2 separate regions of the Homo sapiens genome follow, and region 1 is linked to region 2. Evidence: promoter capture Hi-C in human tissues and cell types (Jung and others, 2019). All regions are on one chromosome and are shown on one strand. The core of a region is centred on a gene start or on the middle of the fragment in contact, and the rest is flanking DNA. Distances in the headings are between cores, read along the strand shown. Region 1 has its middle 12 kb from the start of ZNF705G. Region 2 holds the start of DEFB103B (defensin beta 103B).

Region 1 (4,021 bases), core at 630-3,129, 33 kb before region 2:
AACCACTGACAGCACTGTGGTTTTACACTTGTTGTCCTCTCTAGCTCTCAGTACATTTGTGAGGCCTTGTTAGAGAAGGAGGTGAAATTGCTCTGAAATAGGAAAGTCACTGTGAAATGCAGCACCTGTGTCCCTGGGGAAGAAGCCACCAAGGCTTAGGGACCATGGGCCTGGTTGCTCAAGGACAGCTGGGCTGACTGTTCCCATGAAGATTCCTATGGTTGCAGCTATTCTTTTTTCCTGGCACAGCCCGATGTGACTCCTTCAGAGCAGTGTTCATCCTGGTGATACAGTGTGTTTGATAAAGATCAAGGGAGGAGCACTTTTGTCTTAAAGGTAGGGTTATTATCTTGCTTCAGCAAGGAAGACTATCCACCAGCACAGATATGGGTTTTTTCCCAAACCACAGGCTGTTTTCTGTGGCAAAGTGGCTCAGTTCCCCAGGCAAGAGTGGGCATTCCTTTAGATAGGCTCCCAGAAAGCAAAGTCTCTCATATCTATAATTTTAGAAAGCAAAGTTTCTCTGCACTGTGTCCTCAATGATAAATAACAGAAGCAGTTTTACTGGCTCTCAATTCTGGAGCCAGGACCAGCTTCACGGGCTTGAGGGCTGGGCAGTGACACAGGGACCTGCCCTCAGAAGGGCCAGTGCCTGGTAGCAGGCTCTGCCGACACCCTCTTGACCTTAGTTTTTTTTCTTTGAACTTCATTTTGTAAGTGAAGCCCACTGAGACAATGGAGCAGGCACATGAGCAGAGTGGCTATGAGGGGGGACAAGGTGGGCAGGCTCAGGCCCAGGGACATGAAGGCCACATGTTGGAGCTTGCTGCCCTGAGCACGGGTGCTTTGGAGCGGCCCAGGCACATCTCGACTGGGAAGGAAGATGGCAACGGACCAGGATGGGAGGTGGCAGCCGCAGCAGCAGGTGTCCTCAGCCCTGGGGTGAAAGGAGGGTCTCTGTGTGGACGCAGCACTGACACCTCTGTGCCTGTGCATTCTCAGAGTCATCCTTGGAGCTTCTGCACGAATATCTACCCCCTGACCTGAGCACCAGGACAGGAATCATAGGGCTCAGATAGCAAATTGGGAGGAGAGAAGCACAAAACAAAAGTGTGCCCATGGACATTGTGAAAGAGTATGCCAGGGAGTTCTTGGAATTCCTCAGAGAGTTTAGAGTTCTTCAAGGAGTTATCCAAGGCTCAGAAATATAAATTAAATATATAATGATAGTCACAAAACTTCTGATGGGACAGGCATGGTGGGTCACACCTGTTATCCCAGCACATTGTGAAGCTCTGGTTAGAGGACTGTTTGAAGCCAGTTGTTGGAGACCACCATAGGCAGTATAGTGGGCAGTATAGTTAGACCCCAACATTAAAAAAAAAAAAAAAAGATTAGCTGAGCACAGTGGCACATGCCCGTAGTCTTAGCTACTTGGGAGGCTGAGGTAGGAAGATCATACGAGTTCAGGAGTCTGAGGCTGCAGTGAGCCATGATCATGTCAACAGATGGAGACCCTACCTCAAAAAGAAAAGAAAAGAAAAGAAAATAACACTTCTGATCAATCAATTATTAACAAGTAGAGCAATTTTAAAAATTCAGTTCTTCTTGTTAAAGATACAACAATAGAATTCAAAAACAGGAGTTTTGAGTAAGTTACAAATCATGACGCCACATTTGGTCTGCTGTGGGCCTCTGCAACTTACAGAACATGTCAGAAGATGCATCAAAATTCCATTGGAGAAATTTACACTTAAAATTAAATTCAAACTTCCATAAAACTGATTTGCTTAAACAGTTATATGCTTTGAAAAAAATAGCTCCACAAGAACCACCAGCTACAGATATACTAAAATTTGTGTCAAAATAGTTTATCCCAATATTGTCAGAGTTTAGATAATATTCCAGAAACAGTTGCTTCAGCAGATTCTTTTCAGAAGAAAAAATGAAGTTGCTCAAGGTATAAAGTTTGATGACCTAATAAATTAATTGCAGAAAAGTTGGCCAGAAAAATTGTTTGATTCATCTAGATCCAATTAATAAAGTATTATTATTTATTCTATTAAAACTGTGACACTGGTTTCTGGTGGGGATTTATATGATTCTGTTCTTACTCTTCTAGAAGTATTATCCCTATTACACTTTTCAAATGATGAAACATACTGGCTTGAGAAAGCTGAATACCCTCCTGCCTTTCACGACACTTTCTTCTGCTGCTCTTTGAACAAGGCGCCCTGCATTTCCACTTTGCACTGAGCCTTGGGAATTTTGCAGCCGGCCTTGCCGTGGCCATTTTTATACAAGTTATCTCATTTAATCCTCAGAAGCAAACATGCCAGGGGGTTATTACCCAAGTTTACAGAGGCAGGTCCTGGGGCCTAGAAAGGTTAGAGGACATGTTCAATGTCATCTGACTACTAAGTGGCAGAGATGGAATTTGAAATAAAATCCCTCTCTCTTCAAAGCCCATGTTCCTAACCAGCACCACACAATCACCATGGTGTCCTGATAACCTCCCCCTCTTCATCCTCCTACAACCCCAAAGCTACAGTAACGCTCTGCGTAAGGCCAGAGTCCACGCGGCTACTGTCACCCTCTCCCATCTCCTGAGCTGAGCGGTGAGTCCACAGCCTGGCCCGGCCTTGCAGGAGGTGAGGGAATGAGCGCGCAGTTACTGCCACCTCGTGGCGGCCTGACTACATGACCCTGAAACGCAGACCTAATCTGTTTCCTGCCTGCCTGAAGCCTGGGTGTGCACCTGAGACTTCTAGTAATTTCCTTTTTCCCCTTAAGGAACCTATCGAGAGTTCTCACAATTTTATGCATTCTCTCAAGCAAGTAGCTTTCGTTTATTTATTTTTAATATTCTCTTTTGTGTCCACATTCTTTTTTATTCACTCGTTTTCCTATTTACTTTCAGCTTAATTAGTTCTTTTTTCCCCAGGTTTTTTACAATGGAATATTAGATTGTCTATTTCTGAGCTTTCGACTTCGCATCATAATAGCAGTTAATGTTATCAATTTCCCTCCAAGCACTGCTTTTGTTGTATTGCCACAAATTTTGGTATGTTATGTTTCCATTTGCTGTCATGTGAAAATATTTTTAAATTTCTCCTTTGACTCATTAGAAATATGTTGAGTAATGTCCAAATATGTGAGGAATTTTCCAGCTATTTTCCTTTAGTCACAGCTTCATACATTCCACTGTGGATAGACATTACGCTACATATGATTTTAAATTGTTTTGATTTTTTTGTTTCTTAGTCCAATATGAGCTCTCTTAGGTAATATTTCAATGCATTTTACTGTTATTGGGAGGAGTGTCCTGTAAAGCTTATATAGGTCATAATGGATGATACTGTTGTTCAAGTTCTCTCTATCTTTATTTATACTTTGCTGCTAAAAAAACTATTTCAAAGAAAAAAGTGTTGAAATATTCAATGGTAATTCTTAATTTTTCAATTTCTTCTCTTAGTTCTATCAATTTCTTTTTAAAAATTTTGAGATTCTCTTATTAGGTGCATACTAATTTAATAATAATGATATGTGTTCTTGGTGATTTAACAACTTTATCACTGGAAAACATAGGCTCTTTATCAGTAATAATACACCTTGCTGTAAAATCTACTTTGATTTATAGTCAGTTAGCCGATACAGCTAATTCTGTTTTCATTAGATTAATGTTTCCATACTATAACTCTTTCTGTCCCTTTACTATCAACCTATCTTTGTCCTTATATTTGATAAAGACATTGGGTTTTTATAGACAGCGTGTATTTGGGTCTTGTTTTATACTACAAGTTTGCTAGTGAGGAATTCTCTTAGTTTTTGTTATTGTCATTAGAAAATGCCTTTACGCGGTGGGTCACGCCTGTAATCCCAGCACTTTGGGAGGCCGAGGTGGGCGGATCTCGAGGTCAGGAGATCCAGACCATCCTGGCTAATACGGTGAAATCCTATCTCTACTACAAATACAAAAAAATTAACCGGGCATGGTGGCGGGCGCCTGTAGTCCCAGCTA
Region 2 (4,106 bases), core at 384-2,883:
AAGTAGGAATAGAACCTGATAACCCTTGGATAATAAGGTTGGGCTCCCTTATAGATTTCTCCAGAGATTCTACTTTCTTTGAACGAAAGGTGAGTCCTTAAGATTTTCTGAGTTGTCTGTTTGGAAACAAGTACCAAAATAATCAGATTTAAAAAAAAAAATCAAGCTCCTAATTTTTTTTGAAAAAAAAATGTAATTTGATTTTACTTTTATAAACTTTAAGAAGGCATTTCCACACTTTACAACACTCTCGTCATGTTTCAGGGTTTTTATTTCTTTCTTCGGCAGCATTTTCGGCCACGCGTCGAGCACTTGCCGATCTGTTCCTCCTTTGGAAGGCAGCTGAGCACAGCACACCGGCCGCCTCTGACTCTGCAATAATATTTCTGTAATGTGTTTATGATTCCTCCATGACCTGCAATGACAAAACAGCACACACGGAAAGGTTTTAGGAAGGCTTTTGGTACACGTACAAGGCTTGTGGAATTCCTCAAATAACTCATCCCTTGCTTTTCTTGTATTCTTTTGTTTCTTTTTCCTTTTTCTATAAAATCAGGAGGAAGATGAAGGTATGACTACACAACCCATAGACAATGTTTCTAAGGCTGCAGCTCAGCTGTGGACCCACAGTGGCACCGGGGAAGTGGCGTGACCCTGTGACTGCCGCAGGAACAGTGGGGGTGCTGAGGCTGTGGTGTCCTCAGAGGTAGCCCCAACACTCCACCTCCAACCATTGCACTTAGTAGAACAGGAGCCTGTGCTTCTATTCTCAGAGTAAATCAATCTTTCCTGCTACATTAAACTTTTATGTCTGATTCATGTCTCATCAGCTGGTATAATAATCTTCCCTTGAAGAGTTGGGGAAAGAGATAGCTTTGGGGAGCTATTTAGTTTCTTAATGATTCTTTTCTTTTTTTTTTTTTTTGAGGTGTACTCTCACCCTGTCACCCAGTCTGGAGGACAGTGGCGTGATCTCGGCTTACTGCAACCTCCGCCTGCCAGGTTTAAGCAATTCTCTGCCTCAGCCTCCCGAGTAGCTGGGATTACAGGTGCCCGCCACTGTGCCCAGATAATTTTTGTATTTTTAGTAGAGATGGGGTTTCACCATCTTGGCCAGGCTGGTCTTGAACTCCTGACCTCGTGATCCGCCCACCTCGGCCTCCCAAAGTGTTGAGATTACAGGCATGAGCCACCGCACCTGGCCTCTTAATGATTCTTGTCTGAAAAAAAAGTGGTGATGCCTAGTTCCCATACAACAAACCTGCTTGGTCCAAAGCACTCTGAAGGATGGAGAAATACTGACTCTGAATTATATATTCTCAATTAGATCAATCCTTAGATTTCCCAGCCCATCTTACCTGGAACAGGCACCAAAAACAGGAAGAGCAAAGCAAACAGAAGATAATGGATCCTCATAGCTGCTAGGCTTCACCCCACGCTGAGACTGGATGAAAAGGTGTGCTTGGTCACTTTATAAAGGTTCCAGCCACAGCTGCAATTCTTGTCATATTACAGTGATGACATTATGACATGTTTTCTGATGCATCATTCCAATGCCTCTCACCATGCAGAACACACCCACTCACTCAGTTAATTAGGAACCCAATGGTAAGGCAGAGCTCCCTATGGATTTGTGGCTGTCCGGGTGCTCTCTGGACTCCAGGGGCTTGTCTGGGTGTGGGTCAGATTGGGTTGTGGGTACAGATAGGGCTGGCATGAGCAAGTATGCCCCCTTTGGGGAATAGTCTCAGGGCATGTGGCTGGGGGCTGACTTGTCCGTACTTTGCTGCTTTGGAGCTTTTTTTCTCTTCCTAAAATGCTGGGAGAGTCTAAGACCCTCCTGGGGACCAAATAAATCCAGCCCTGGACATATTCAATATCTGGCAATAGGACTGGCTTTTTGGTAGTGAGGTAAGGGAGGAAAATGGGCTACATTCAAGGTTAGCTGACCACCTGGCCCTTGGCCTATGATGGGGTGCTATAATTTGAGTGAAACATGTCTCATTCTTTCATTTTTTTTTTTTTTTTTTGAGAGACAGAGTCTCACTTTTTTGTGCAGGCTGGAGTGCAGTGGCATGATTACAGCTCACAACAGCTTGAGCTGTCAGGCTCAAGAGGTCCTCCCACTTCAGCCCCCTGAGTAGCTGGGACCACAAACGCATACCTCCACACATGGCTAAATTTTAAATTTTCTGTAGAAAATAAAATGGGGTCTCACTATGCTGCCCAGACTGGTTTCGAGCCCAGATGTGAACTCCTGGGCTCAAGCAATCCTCCTGCTTCAGCCTCCTAAATTGCTGGGATTACTGGTATGAGCCACTGTGTGCGGCCCATGTCCGATTCTTCATCATTGTCTAAAACCTACCAAATTTATGAGTAAAGAAGGTGTTTAATTTTACTTCATCAGAGAAAGAGGATGCTGGGATGATAGATTTAATAGACTGGCATCTCCTCCTAGTCAATGACTGTCCCTGTGCAAAAGAGGGGCTTCAGAATAGACATTTAAGACCTCAAGTTACTCTTGGCTCAGGAGCATTCAAGGCAGTCCAGGGGCCAGATGATTTCCCCTGCATATAGATTCAACGTTTAGAGGGAAAAATGCTAAAAAAGAAAAAAAAAACAGCTATTAAACTTAAATGTTCAGGAATCCAATGGATGGGTTGTATTTGGTTGACTATCAATTGGGAACTAAGTAAGTCAATGACAATTCAATTGGGAGCTGAAGTCACCGTGATGTCTCCTAGCTGCTGCTTCGTGTGAATGCAATTATAACGGATCCACTAAGGATCAAGGGTGTGTTAGTTCTGGGAGTGTGTGTTCAGAATTTGGGTGCACCACACCTGTCAGATTCAGTAAGAAAACTCTGAACACATACTATAGGAAGGGACAAGTATCATGTCTTCAGCATAGGTGAGGGTGAAGTGGATGAGATACCAAGAGGGACCAGTCTTGGTTCTTTCTCTCCAGAAGCTCCATGTAGGGCCAGGTAGATGGGCAGACAGTCAAATGATAAATTTAGGATGAATTATAATGGGAGTCATAGGAAGATTTCAAGCACAGGGCTGCAGAAACGTAGAAGAAAGATAACTCATCATAACTCAAAGATAACTCTTTGAGCCAAGAGTGGAGCTCAATCAGCAGATTTAAGACTTTAGATAGGTAGATGCTACTTTTTAAAATCTAACTTTCCTCTTTAGTTCATGATTTGAGACAAAGCAATTGGAGATATTTATAAATGGGGGAAGGAGGTGAGTGTGGGTGGGATGGGTGCTGACTTCACAGTCTTACTATGTCAGACATAACGATGGCATTGGGCGTTGTAGAGGGTTAGCACCAGCTCTCAGCCTGGGGTGAGGACAGTCAGACGCTGGAGATGACTTGCTTTTCCACATGGAGAATAGACTTCCACAGGTGAACCCCTGGTCTAACCTGTTCCTTCATAGACTGGGAGGCATTTTTATGGCAACACCACTATTTCATAAAAGTTCCTTGGTGAGGAAAAATGCCACTTTTTCTTGTCAACTAGTTTGGGAGCTGGGAATTGGAGATTGGGCTGTGACAATCAGCCTTTTCAAGTTTGGACATACTCCAGACACACAAAATCCGTTTTGAGGGGGACTTACCTGTTTTAAGAAAATTATAAAAGTAATGCATTTTTATGGTAAAATTTCAAACAATAGAAGAGAGAGACTGTGTAATTTACTTCTCTACTTCAGGGAGCCACTGACAACTGTGAATTGTCCTCTTTTTGGCTTATTATAATCCTTTTTATGTCTTCAATACTTTTAGCCTCTCAAATGATAACAAGTACACGTGTGCTGTCTAATAGTTGGGTGAATAGATTCATGTGTCTGAAGCCATACAACACTAACGACAGCTGGGTCTTGTCACTCCCTGCCCCTGGGCTCTGAGTCACAGCGCTTGGAACTGCAGATCCTGCAAATTTTTGTACCCATGTGCTTGGTTTCCTTGTAGCTCTCACAGCCAGCATTTTGACATTTTGATTAGGTTGAGCAAGGAAGAGAAACTTTAGTTATTTATCACCTTTGTTCATGTCAGACTTTCCTTTAATTATTATTTTTTAAATCCTGTTCTTAAAATGTGGA

Evidence for each region. The method cuts DNA at HindIII sites, captures the fragments that hold promoters and counts their contacts. A contact is called where the count stands out against the background at its distance.
Region 1: a fragment that was not itself captured here is called in contact with the fragment with the promoter of DEFB103B in region 2 in 4 of the 25 tissues and cell types used here (H1 embryonic stem cells, mesenchymal stem cells, mesendoderm cells and 1 more).

The regions. Positions count from the first base shown.
Region 1 is chr8:7,395,301-7,399,321 of GRCh38, forward strand. No RefSeq gene overlaps it. Among named protein-coding and RNA genes, the nearest start is that of ZNF705G, 12 kb to the left of the region's middle. RefSeq lists enhancers at 308-884, 885-1,461. The HindIII fragment of the contact is 6,506 bases long and covers 1-4,021 here.
Region 2 is chr8:7,428,715-7,432,820 of GRCh38, forward strand. It overlaps DEFB103B (defensin beta 103B), which reads right to left and starts at 1,634. Exons shown (of 2, transcript NM_018661.4): 1 at 1,359-1,634; 2 at 174-415. The coding sequence starts at 1,416. The coding sequence ends at 270. The HindIII fragment of the contact is 16,895 bases long and covers 1-4,106 here.